2 separate regions of the Homo sapiens genome follow, and region 1 is linked to region 2. Evidence: promoter capture Hi-C in 16 types of primary human blood cells and fetal thymus (Javierre and others, 2016). All regions are on one chromosome and are shown on one strand. The core of a region is centred on a gene start or on the middle of the fragment in contact, and the rest is flanking DNA. Distances in the headings are between cores, read along the strand shown. Region 1 overlaps SATB1 (SATB homeobox 1). Region 2 holds the start of SATB1-AS1 (SATB1 antisense RNA 1).

Region 1 (5,882 bases), core at 1,188-3,687, 52 kb after region 2:
CTGTGAATGGCCCACTTGGGCTGATATCACTGGTAGAAATTGAAGATTTCTTCCCCAATTCTTAGTTATATTTTGCGTATATCAGGAGCTATAGCGCTATGATAAAGTTCCTCTAAATGTAAAACCTGCATATTTAATGAAAAGAGAATTGATGATTAAAATCAAACTAGAGTCTACATGTGGGAAGTCTGTGTACAATTTGGAAAGTCCTGTTTATGTACAGCTTCATGCTCAGCCCTTCCAGCCAAGAGCATCGAACCAGTCTCCTCTTCGTACAGAAAAGCATTTACATACTTAGAGATGATGCTCAGCCAATCCATATGAGGAACCTAGCCAAGGAAGAAGCATTCATCCTGGGTAGGTGGGAATAAATTGCAAAATCATGACAGCCTCACCATTGTACCAGAACGATTCCCTGCAAGATTGTCTTTAGCATCTGGTGATGGCCATAGCTTCCTGAAGAAAAAACATTTGGATCTTAGCAACACTGGGTATGCTGGCTTGATATACAATAAATCACTTGCTTTATTCTAAAAAGTATTTCCAGATATACCTACTGCCCATGATGGTTAGAATTAAAATGAAGCAAGGCATATAAGATATTCAGCAAGTGTTCAATATACACTTATTATTATGCCCATTTTTATTTATTACATTAACTACTTCTATTCACTGCTGGGTAAAAATTGAAAGTAGGTGACTTTTTATGTCATATTTTTTCTTTTACACCTTTTTCCTAGAGTACTAAAGTTAATGAATATCATGAGAATATATTTGTAAATTTTTTTAGTTGCTTATTATAAGCTTATTTTCTCAGCTCAGCTCACTGTTTGTAGTTGTCATTAAGCAAATGACATTCTTTTAGAAGCCATTTTTAAAAATTGTTGCTTAGAAGCCTTCTTGGGGTAATAAGTGAGAGTGAACAACTAGTTGGAAAGAGTTTGGGTAATAATTGATTTTATGCCTTAAATCTAAACCACTTTTTAAAAATAAGATTAGGAATGCTGTCCCATTTCCAAAGTTTGTAGAATTGTTCAGGAAAGGAGAGCAAAAACACAGCCTGGTAAGTTGCAACTTGAAATTTTCTTGGTTTTATTGGATTTGGGGTGTGCCCTGTGCCTACCCTTTTTTAATTTAGGAAATGGTTAGAAATCTTTATCAATGCCAATCATTGTTGGCTGAATGTGATTTTACTCTTTGTCCACTTTAGTTGAAATGGATAGTCTTTCTGAGCTATCCCAGCAAGGCGCCAATCATGTCAATTTTGGCCAGCAACCAGTTCCAGGGAACACAGCCGAGCAGCCTCCATCCCCTGCGCAGCTCTCCCATGGCAGCCAGCCCTCTGTCCGGACACCTCTTCCAAACCTGCACCCTGGGCTCGTATCAACACCTATCAGTCCTCAATTGGTCAACCAGCAGCTGGTGATGGCTCAGCTGCTGAACCAGCAGTATGCAGTGAATAGACTTTTAGCCCAGCAGTCCTTAAACCAACAATACTTGAACCACCCTCCCCCTGTCAGTAGATCTATGAATAAGCCTTTGGAGCAACAGGTTTCGACCAACACAGAGGTGTCTTCCGAAATCTACCAGTGGGTACGCGATGAACTGAAACGAGCAGGAATCTCCCAGGCGGTATTTGCACGTGTGGCTTTTAACAGAACTCAGGTCAGTTGTGTTTCATAAGTGGTTCTGTGCTGTCTCCTATTTTCTCTTTCTTTAGTCCCATCTATAACTAAAGTTTATTCTTTTACTTCTGTACTAACATTTTCTCTCTCTCTTCATGTGATCATATTACCTATTCCTGGTGGAGCCTCAATTTTACCACTCCTTTTCCTATGATATACTTCTGAATCAAGGGAACCTATGTGCAGATTGATCCCAATTCAGGGCCTTTGAAAGACTAATTAAATGTCAAACGTACTTTAAACTGGCATTACTTATGCTTTTATATAATGGAATCATAAGCTATAGTAGATGGTTAAGAAAAGTTTCATGACTCAGTCAAGGCTATTGGCAGGATTCCAGGCTTCTAGCCTATTGTCTTTTCCATTTATGTTGTTACTACCCATATCAAACTTAGGTATATAAATGTTCCCTCTTAAAGTTCTACTGCAGCGTTGTTGTTGTTGTTGTTGTTTGTTGTTGTTAACACCTTGGAAGCAATAATCCACTTAATTCTAAGCAGCCATTTTGAAAAAATATTATATGACTTATTAACATAAAATATTTGTAAGCTGTGTGCGCTCCCTCATGCTATTGTCTTCCAAATTCATTGTCTAGACCAGGCATCAGCAAACTTTATTCTGTTATCGACCAGATAGTAAATATTTTAGGTTTTGAAGCACTTAAATCTCGGTCACACTGTAGAGTAATAAAGCAGCCATAGACTATAAATGAATGGCACTGGGTATGGTAGTATTTCAGTAAAACTATTTATAAAACAGGCCATGGAGTAAGTGTGGCTGGCAGGCCTTAGTTTGCAGACTCATTTGTAGAGATCTCACTGCCTGCTTATACCCCTAATGTGCACACCTTTGTCTTCCTGGCCCAATTCCTGTGAAGGTACTATCTATCAGCCTGGAAGATGTTTAAGAGGGTCATGGAGAAAAAGTGATATATATGAGAGGTCATAAGATAAAGATATTTGAGAAGCCCTAAACAAATTGACTCTGTTGAACTGTGAATGAGAAGAATTTTTTTCTTTGTTTGGAAACTAGTATGATACGTGATATATATGGTGTTTATTTTTGGCCCAGGTACACTAAAACAAAACAAAAAACAACAACAAAACCAAAAAACAAACAAAAACGAAAAACCGCGTAACTTTGATTAGAAGAAGGACATTATGCCTTTTCAGCTCTTTTGTTTTACCACTGTTCTTTCTTTTGTCAATTTATCTTATTTTTTGACCTGACTCACATTTTCCTTTCATATTTAAGTTATTTTGTTTATTACATGATTATGATTATGAGAATAAAATTCTGGTACAGAAGTAATCTAGTATTAATTCCTAGTTTGCAGAGTTTCCATACCTAGGAGAATCCCAGCTGTGACTTATTTTTGGCGTGCCTTAACTAGATGGGGAGTTAGGAGACCTGACAAAGCCTCTAATTCAGTGTTTGTTTTCAGTCGATTCATCTTTTTTTTTTTTTTTGTACGTTCGTCTGTTTTTGAAAAGGCAGTTGCACAAGGCTATGTCTCAGGTTAAAATTGTATGGTTTTACCTAGTTCTATATCTTTATAGCTTAAAAAACTGTGTTCATCATTAGCTGGTGAACTTAATATGACACCTATATTCAGTTGGGGGATAATTATTGAAAATGAATGGCTCAAAAGTCAACCCTCTAAATATTCCTGTTTCTGGTAGCATTCTTTATTTTAGTAAATATAGTAAGTACTAATAATTCTCCGTACTAGGCCAAAAAAAGTAGGTCTCTACATAACATTTCAATAATGCTTTTTTGAATTGAGTTAAAAGCCCACAAAGACATCATGACATAGACACAAATTATATATATATGTATATATATGTGTATATATATGTGTGTGTGTATGTGTGTGTATATATATGTATATATGTGTATATATATAGTTACTGGTGTCTTAAAAATTGAGCAGTTATTTCTTAAAGCACTAAGTAAGTGTCCTTTATATAGTGAAGAATGCTAAGACAGTAGAACTCAGAGAAGTGAGGATAAAGTTGTCACCCATCATTACAGCTTTTCTCCTTTTGGGTTTATGATGTTACAGCCATTACTATGAGGAGTTGGCCATTTGTTCTGCCTTTGGTCCTTAAAAGGACAAATTCCACAATATCTACAGGATTTGTTACTGGAAGAAAGGCAAAATTTTCTCTTTTATACCATATTAATCTCTTTGAAAAAGGTAATCATCTCTGTGGTTAATATCAAAAACAGTGACTTTTTTTTCTGTGAGAGGAGAATGAAAACTTTACCTTGTATAGCTTGATTGCAGATACCTCCTTATTAATAATAGCCAATTTAGGAAAAAAAGTCATTACCAAAAAAATATTTAGTGCCCTGGATTATGAAGGGTGTTTTAAAGCTTTATATTGATAATTGATACTCTTCAGTCAAAGTAGATATAGGGCCATATTTGAAGATGTTTGACTTAAGAGGAAATTTGTATATATATTTCAATATTAATTCCTTGAGAACTAACTTTTGCACATGCAGGCATGAATTTATTTTCATTGGTCATTCTTAAAAACCACACACACATACATACACAGCTGCATTTATTTTTTAATGATTATGCATTGGTATGACTGGATGTAGTGTGTTGATTTCAAAGTGTATGCATTTCAATAAAAGCAGGTGCAGAGGGTATGGTGTGAGTGTGGAGTATGAAAATACACATGCTAATGCGTATGTATAGACAAGGAGCTCTGCAGAGTTAAATCACACATCACACATTTGTGTGCACCTAGTACAATGTGCAGTTCCAACTCCAACTTTTAAAACATTAAAAAACCAAACACCGCATATTCTCACTCATAGGTGGGAATTGAACAATGAGATCACATGGACACAGGAAGGGGAATATCACACTCTGGGGACTGTTGTGGGGTGGGGGGAGGGGGGAGGGATAGCATTGGGAGATATACCTAATGCTAGATGACGACTTAGTGGGTGCAGCGCACCAGCACGGCACATGTATACATATGTAACTAACCTGCACAATGTGCACATGTACCCTAAAACTTAAAGTATAATAAAAAAAAAATTAATGTAAAATATGTACATACAAATACAAAGTTACATGATAGGGTCAGATGAAGATACTGTTTCTTATAAACGGCATTAAGACCTTAATATGATAGAAAACACTTGTATGAATTGAGGGTTATTTTAGTCATTGAAGCTCTGTATAACTTTAAAACCCTGGGTCTTAGGTTTTAACTATTGAGAATTTTCTTATCATCTTAATAGGGTTCCCTATATTAACACATTACCCTCCCAAGACTTTCGCACATGGGTTTTTTTTTAAGCCTACCTTTTCTGAAAATTTATGGTAAACTTATATAGTTACTTGTTTTAAGGAATTTTTCCCCTTCTGAATTGATGGGCATGGGTTCTTTAATTGCCGTTGAAGATATCAGCTTTTAGCATATGTCATTCATTCAGTTATGCCTACTTGATGTCTTTTTAATGGAAACCTATGGCTAAAAGTAATTGCCAAAGCTTCTAGATTTCTACTTTTCAATTCACTTCTCTATCTTATTGCTATTTAATGGTTCTGATACATGCAAATACATTCCTTAATACCCTTTGATTTTTAAAAGAATAAAATTCAGAGTTTAACTCTGATCCCACTCTGTGGCTTTTTTCCCCTTTTTCTTCCCCCTCCTCTTGTCTTTTGGCACACTTTATTTTCCAGTAAAATAAAGAATGAAGATGGATTATTCAAAACTGATAACAGTAATGGACCATCATGTAATGTTTTATTAAATTTGAGTTCTGTAAATTATGTGGTGGAGAGAAATTTGCCTGCTTAAGTATAACAGAAATTGCTACTGTGTTTCTATAATTCTTCACAGTGTAATTTAAGAAAAGTCCACTATCCATATCACTATTGAATAAAAGGTAAAAAGGTGCTATTACCCCAACAAGACAGCTCTCTGGTTAGCCTGCCAAACGACAGAGATAAATGTGTCTACTTAAAACTTACTTGGCATGAATCCATGGTAGTAGGTGGAGTTTGAAAATAGTCTTTTACCTGGACATAGGATTAAAAATTCACCAAACAACAGAGGCAGGTAGCCTTGAAGAATATTCTATGTATTTTCTTTTTAGGAGGGAGGTTTCATCAAATCATATTTTCTTCCTGAGGGCTTTGAAGTTCCATGAAGCTGATAAAAT
Region 2 (6,077 bases), core at 3,025-5,524:
CTAATAAAAACTTGCAGGTTTTGCAGCTCAGGTGGGCATCACGGATCTACTGATATGTGATGTCATCCCCAGCGGCCCAGCTGTAAAATTCTTCTCTTTGTATTCTTTCTCTTTATTGCTCAGACTGGCCGACACTTAGGGAAAATATAAAGAATCTATGTTGAAATATTGGGGGCGGGTTCCCCTGATAACAATGTTTCCCTCTAAGCTGGTGGCTACTCTGGCAGTTTGCCCTAAAAAATGGAAGACTTGGGCCATAAAGCTACAGGAAGAGACTGTTTAGCTGGCAGGTTATCATATGGACAAGGATTACTACCAGTAGCAGTAGTCTGCAGAATTGTGTACCACAGCTCTCTACTGTTGGGTACAAGATAGGCTGCACTATCCGACCTTCTTGTCATGATTCTTTGGAGCCACACAACTAATCCTGGTTAATTCTTTGTGAGGCCATATGATGTATGGCATTTCTGGGCCATAGCATTTAAATGTCTGCATGAAACCCTCCAGAGTGATCTTTATTTTTGCCATAACAACATGAAACATTCAAGATGGCAACTGTTCCATTAGCCAGGGACCTGGAGTGACAGACATGGAACAGACCAGCTGAACTGCAATGGATTCAAACCATAACCAAGAAAACGTTTGCTGTTACAGGCCACTAAAAAATTGGAATTGTTACTCCAGCACATTGCCTATCTTGACTGATAAACAAATTTGTTCTGTTTGGCTGCAACTGGCAGGACGAAGACTAACGGTTGGAAGTTTCAGGAAGACTAATTCTGTGCAATATAAGGTAAAAAAATATATATAAGGTAAAAACATAATAAAGTATATAAAGATGAAATACTTTTGAAATTATCCATTCACTTGCACAATATATAGTGAACTCTATTCTCTGGTAAGTACGGTATAGGTAAAAATCCTTGCCTTAATGGCGGTAAGTAGTAAGTTCCCCTTCACACCCAAAATATCTGCATTGAATGGCCTCTAAAGATTTGACAGAACAAATTAACTTTAAAAATACCTTCCAACCTAGAGCTTTAGGATCTCTGATTCCTCTGGTCTTAAGAGAAAAATATGTACATATATATATATATTTTTTCTTCCTCAAGTATTTCTTTGATTCAAACCACTAACTGATCCATTGTCTTTTCACATTTTGATGTCTTTTTTCCAGCAAATAACTTCCTTCAAGGCCAATGCTGTTTTATCCTTTCCCTTGATCTTTCTTCTAATATTTAGTAGGCAATATTTTATTGTCTATTCTTTTAAGGAAATAACCAGTGCAGCTTTTGATACCAGCTACTATTATTGGCCATTTGATATGTTCCAGATTTGTCTTTCAGTCATTTAAGTCACATTTGGACTTGTTAAAAAAATCTAGTAGCACAAATGTATTATTGTGTTAGTTCATTTGAGGTGCTACAACAAATTATCTTTGACTGGGTAATTTATAAGCAACAGAAATTTATTGCTCACAGTTCTGGAAGCTGAGGAGTCCAAGATTACAGCACCAGCAGATTCAGTATCTGGTGAAGGCTCACTCCTTGCTTCACAGATGGCACTTTTGTTGCTGTGTCCTCACACAGTGGAAGGGGCAAGGTAGCTAGATTCAGCCTGTCTTACAAAGGCACTCCTGTCACTCATGAGGGTTGAAGCCTTCATGACTTAATCACTTCCCAAAGGCCCTACTTCTTAATACCATCACTTTTGATATTAGGTTCTAACACATGAACCCCAATATTGGGGGAACACTAACATTCAGACCATAGCAACTAACCAAATAATCCAGATTAAATGCCCCTTTCTTCTGAAAAATGATCTTAGCCTTGTGCTATGAAATTTGTGGCCAACTACAATATTTTATTAACATCTGAGCTGTAAGGCTTAAGAGTTTATCAAACTATGTCATTTAATGCACTGCACCCAGAATTGCATAATTCTGTATTCTAACAGAGCCCATGTGCTTTCTATACAAGACTATTGGGAGGAAAAAGCAAATTCAAAAAATGAGGGGCAAAATGGTCTCGGTTCAACTCAGAGGAGCATATCATACTTTCAGTTATAGGGGCTTGGCTGATAACTTGGGGAAGCAGATGAGTATATAAGAGTGTAAGAAAGAAAAAAAAACCTTTTTTAAAAATTTCAAATTTCTGTTCAGCTTCATTTCAGGCTTTCAGAATTGGAAAATCAACTGCCTGCTACAATAAATTACTGTTAAGCAGTAATTAAATACCGAGAATGTATTTTTTTCCATTCCAAACCTGATGTCTTTCTCAGACACAGATATTGTTACTGGTTAGGAAATGCAGCATTTTGGTAAATTAAGGCAGGAGGATTTAATGTCTCCTGGGACCTGTGGGGACAGAAAGTGATCCAAGAAGGAAAACGTTTTACTATGTTTTGCTCATTATAATCATTTATACCTTTTTGCTTTGCTTTACAAAACTAGGAGTTGTGGTGGGCACTTGTATCTTTAAAAAGGAGGGTTGGTTCCCTAAAAGAACCCTAATTCATAATTTTAAAAAATTCCTATATGTTTGGAATTGTGGTCTCGGCATAAAATGATGATCAACTGAAAAAAGATGAATAACTTCCAGTGAATTCAATAACCATGGATGAGGGGAAAAAAGCAGCATGAATACATGCTGTATTCTCCTTTATTTAGAAAAAGCACACAAAAATACAGCAGAGTTGATGTGTTTGTCACCAGGGCTTGAAAGTCGAATCAACCACTGTGTAAAAGATAAAATAAGACTGCACGGATATCAGGATTTTCCCAGCGTGCTTTATTCATAGCCATCTGACACAACAGGACCTAACAGAGCTTTTAGGAAAAACTGAATTCTCAGCCCACAATCACTTTCCAGGAACTTCCCTGCAAACAGTGCTGTGCGCTGGCAGGATGGAAATCTTAGCAATCTCCCTCCTGCTTCCATAGTTTCCTCCTCTCTAAATAAAATTATTTATGGGGACTTAATGAGAGAGCAAGCCTTGTGTGAAAGGAATTCAAGAAAGTGCGGCTTCTAAAAATACACCTAGGCAGCTCTACAGTCCTTATTGTTACAACCTGACGTTTTGCAGTTCATGCCATGAACCTAACTACACTTCTTGCCAAATACACACAAGCGTACAAAGAAGAGGAAAAGTAAAAACTATGTTACTATGTTTTATCTTTCTGCAATCCCTTTGAGTAAACAGTAGTAATTTTCTGTTGACATACTCAATGCAAATTTCCCAAAGGCTACACAATACAAAACAAAAGACCTGTTAGCTTCCTCAGAGCTGGGGGGAGGAGAGGCAGGGGGAGAGAAATAAAGTTGATGGAGCTCCAGTTTCTCCTAAGCCTGCAGTCCTGAGCCTCCAGTCACCCTAGTCTTTTTGTAGAGATTTTTTGAGTTTCAGTCTCCACTTGGGAAGGTTCCTTGGCCCCTTCTCTCCCAATGTCAATAAAACCCTCATCTCTCCCGCTTTGCCCCCAGCTTTTTGGGGAAATTGGACCTTGCCTAGGCGTCTTGTTCCAGTGGGTTGAAAAGTACAGCTGGTGATGTGAGGATAAATATTTAAACTAATGGGCTGGGTCACAGCGTGGGGGTCTTCAAGAGAGGGCCTCCTCCTCCTTCCGCCACGTGCTCCTCACTTGGGGTGCAGGGCTCCTGGACAAGGGGCTAAGACGGACGAGGGTGGGATGAAGGGAGATGGACAGACCAGACTGTAAGTGAAGGAGGCCCTCTAGGAAACATCGTCTCGACCGAACATTGACGGAGAAAAAAAAAATGGCCCAAATGCCCCTAGTGGGGAAGCATACACCCCACGCAGGCTGGGTTGGGGTGGGGGTGCTTCGCGGCCTCTCACCTGACTTCCTCCTCCGCCTGCACACACACTACAGTAACCCCCTCTACTCACCCCCCAAAACCCAGCCAAACAACAAGCAACAAGAGGAAGCCGCAGGCGACAAGAGGAGGAGTGCGCGTGTTGGGGGCCCCCGGAGAGGTGAGGGGGCAGGGTTGGCGGGCGACGAGAACCGCGCCGCGCACCCCAAGCGCACCCCCAAGCGCCCACACTTACCCCTCGAGGCTGAGGGTCCTGTCTTCCGCGCCAACCCCCGTGTGCGCCCCCTGGCCCGCCCTCGCCCCTCCGGCCCGCCGCCCCCCACACCCCGGCCGGCGCGCTGGGAGGGAGCCCGGGAGCGGTGCGCAGCAGCGGCGGCGGCGGCGGCGGCTCGGGCTCGGCTCGGCTCGGGCTTCAGTGCGCCTAGTGTCGCCAGCGGCCGCCGAGGCTCCCACCGCCAGGGGGAGAAGCCGGGCGGGCGCTGGGGAGGCGGGCCGGGCCCTGGCCGCCCCGCTGGCCAGCCCGCGCCGCACAAGCTCCGAAGCGGCGGCTACGCGGGGTCCGCCGAGCCCCCGGGCGCAGCGTGCCCGGTCCGAAGCGCCACGTCTGGATGCGCGTCCCGGGTGGCTGCGGGCTCCCGCGGGGGACGCCCCGGCCGCTCCGGTGCGCCTCCAGACTGCAGGCGCCGCGACCGACGAGACGAGAGCAGCTCCCGCCGGCCCCTTCCCCCTCCCGCCCCCGCCGCCGCCCCCTCCCCCTTCTCCCCCCCCCGCCCGTTAACATCTCCTCCCTCCCCCTCCTTCTCTTCCTTCCCTTGGCCCCGCGCGCTCGCTCGCTCGCTCCTCGCCTCGCTCTCCCCTTTAAACGCCCACTTCGTATGGGGAAAGAGGACAACTTGAAGTCAAGTTGCAATTAACTTCCGCGGCAGCCGCAGCTCCGGCGGCGGCGGCGGCGGCAGGAGAGGCAGAAGCCGCCGCCTCGGAAGTCCGACGCCGGCGCGCCCGCCCGGGGAGCCGTTCTTGGTTTCAGGCCCGCACTCGACAGCCACCGCCGCCCCCAACGTCCATGCCTGAGTGAGTTCTGCTCTTTTGCCTCCCTTTTCCCCTTGCTACTCTTGCTGTTTTATCTCTGTCCCTCTTTTTCCGGAATCAATCCAAACTTCTCCGTAGCACCCACTCCTCGTCCCCTATTGGGGCGGCTGGGCTCCCCTCTCGTGGGCGCAGGGCTTCAACGGTCTTCCGAGCCCCTTTTCTCACGCAGACGGACCTTGGAGGGGTGGGCTGGTAGAGTAGGGGAGAGCGGTCGGGATGGGGGATTTGAAGATGCCATTCGTTTTCTGTCTGGGTGTGGACACACCACCACACCTGCCCAATAGACCCTGGCTGAACAAACTCCTTCAGGTCACCGGTATGGCCCCTTTTAGAAAAGGAAAGGGGAGTGGAAAAGACCGAAGGAAGCAAATGGGGAAAAGGGGAGCCTCTCGGTGCGTTCTGGAGCCGGGCGGGCAGTAAGGTGCCTGGAGGAGTGGGCTGCGGGAGTGGTAATGTTCCCCCACCGGATCGCGAGTCTGCTCAGCATCCTTTCCCGGTCCATCTCCGCCTCCCTCCGCTCCCTGCCTGCGCGGCTGATTGTAAGCATCGGCGAAGAGGGGCCTGGGAAGTTTGTGGCAACTTCTGCATCCCGGGAGCTACTCGGGCGCCGGGGCGCTCAAGTTGGAGCCCGGAGTTTGAAAGCCGCGGCACTCCTCATTTCGAGCCCTCGCTGGCTGTAGCGAGGCCGGTCCTGGAGAGGCTGCTGGCGTGAATGTGGGTTTGGAGTTGGGCAAGAGGCAGAAGAAAGGGCCGTCCTCTTAGCAGGGGCCGGGACATCACAGGTGCAGCCTCGCAGTCCACACCGTGTTTCCCTCCTGCTGTCCAGACCCGAGCGCGGTGGCCTTTTCCTATTGCTCCAGTGCTAAGGCTCCCGGGCCGGCAGAACCGGGGTTTGGGAAACCACGACGAGAAGGACGAAGCAGGCAGGTGGCAGGTCCGGGGAGTGCCACGTGCTTACTGGGGAAACGCAGTTTCCTCTTGGGATGACCTCAGAAGACCAACAGGGGAAAGGGGCATAGGGATCTCCTTGAAAGTTTTGGCCTTGGCCTCCACTGAGGTGTTGCAAATTTCACTAACAAATGTCAACCACAGGGTCCTCTCTCAAAGTGTCCTGGTTGGCAACTTTGACCTCTGCGCCCTTCCTTGGCGAACTTT

The links. The method cuts DNA at HindIII sites, captures the fragments that hold promoters and counts their contacts. A CHiCAGO score of 5 or more calls a contact.
Region 1: a contact is called between a fragment that was not itself captured here and the fragment with the promoter of SATB1-AS1 in region 2, in 1 of 17 cell types (naive CD4 T cells). The highest score is 5.2, in naive CD4 T cells.

Annotation. Positions count from the first base shown.
Region 1 is chr3:18,390,245-18,396,126 of GRCh38, reverse strand. SATB1 (SATB homeobox 1) reads left to right here. Exons shown (of 11, transcript NM_002971.6): 7 at 1,211-1,665. Among named protein-coding and RNA genes, the nearest start is that of SATB1, 32 kb to the left of the region's middle. The HindIII fragment of the contact is 3,261 bases long and covers 807-4,067 here.
Region 2 is chr3:18,443,434-18,449,510 of GRCh38, reverse strand. SATB1-AS1 (SATB1 antisense RNA 1) reads right to left here and starts at 4,274. Exons shown (of 7, transcript NR_125803.1): 1 at 4,069-4,274. It also overlaps a transcript of SATB1 not described here. RefSeq lists a silencer at 4,149-4,368. The HindIII fragment of the contact is 8,267 bases long and covers 1-6,077 here.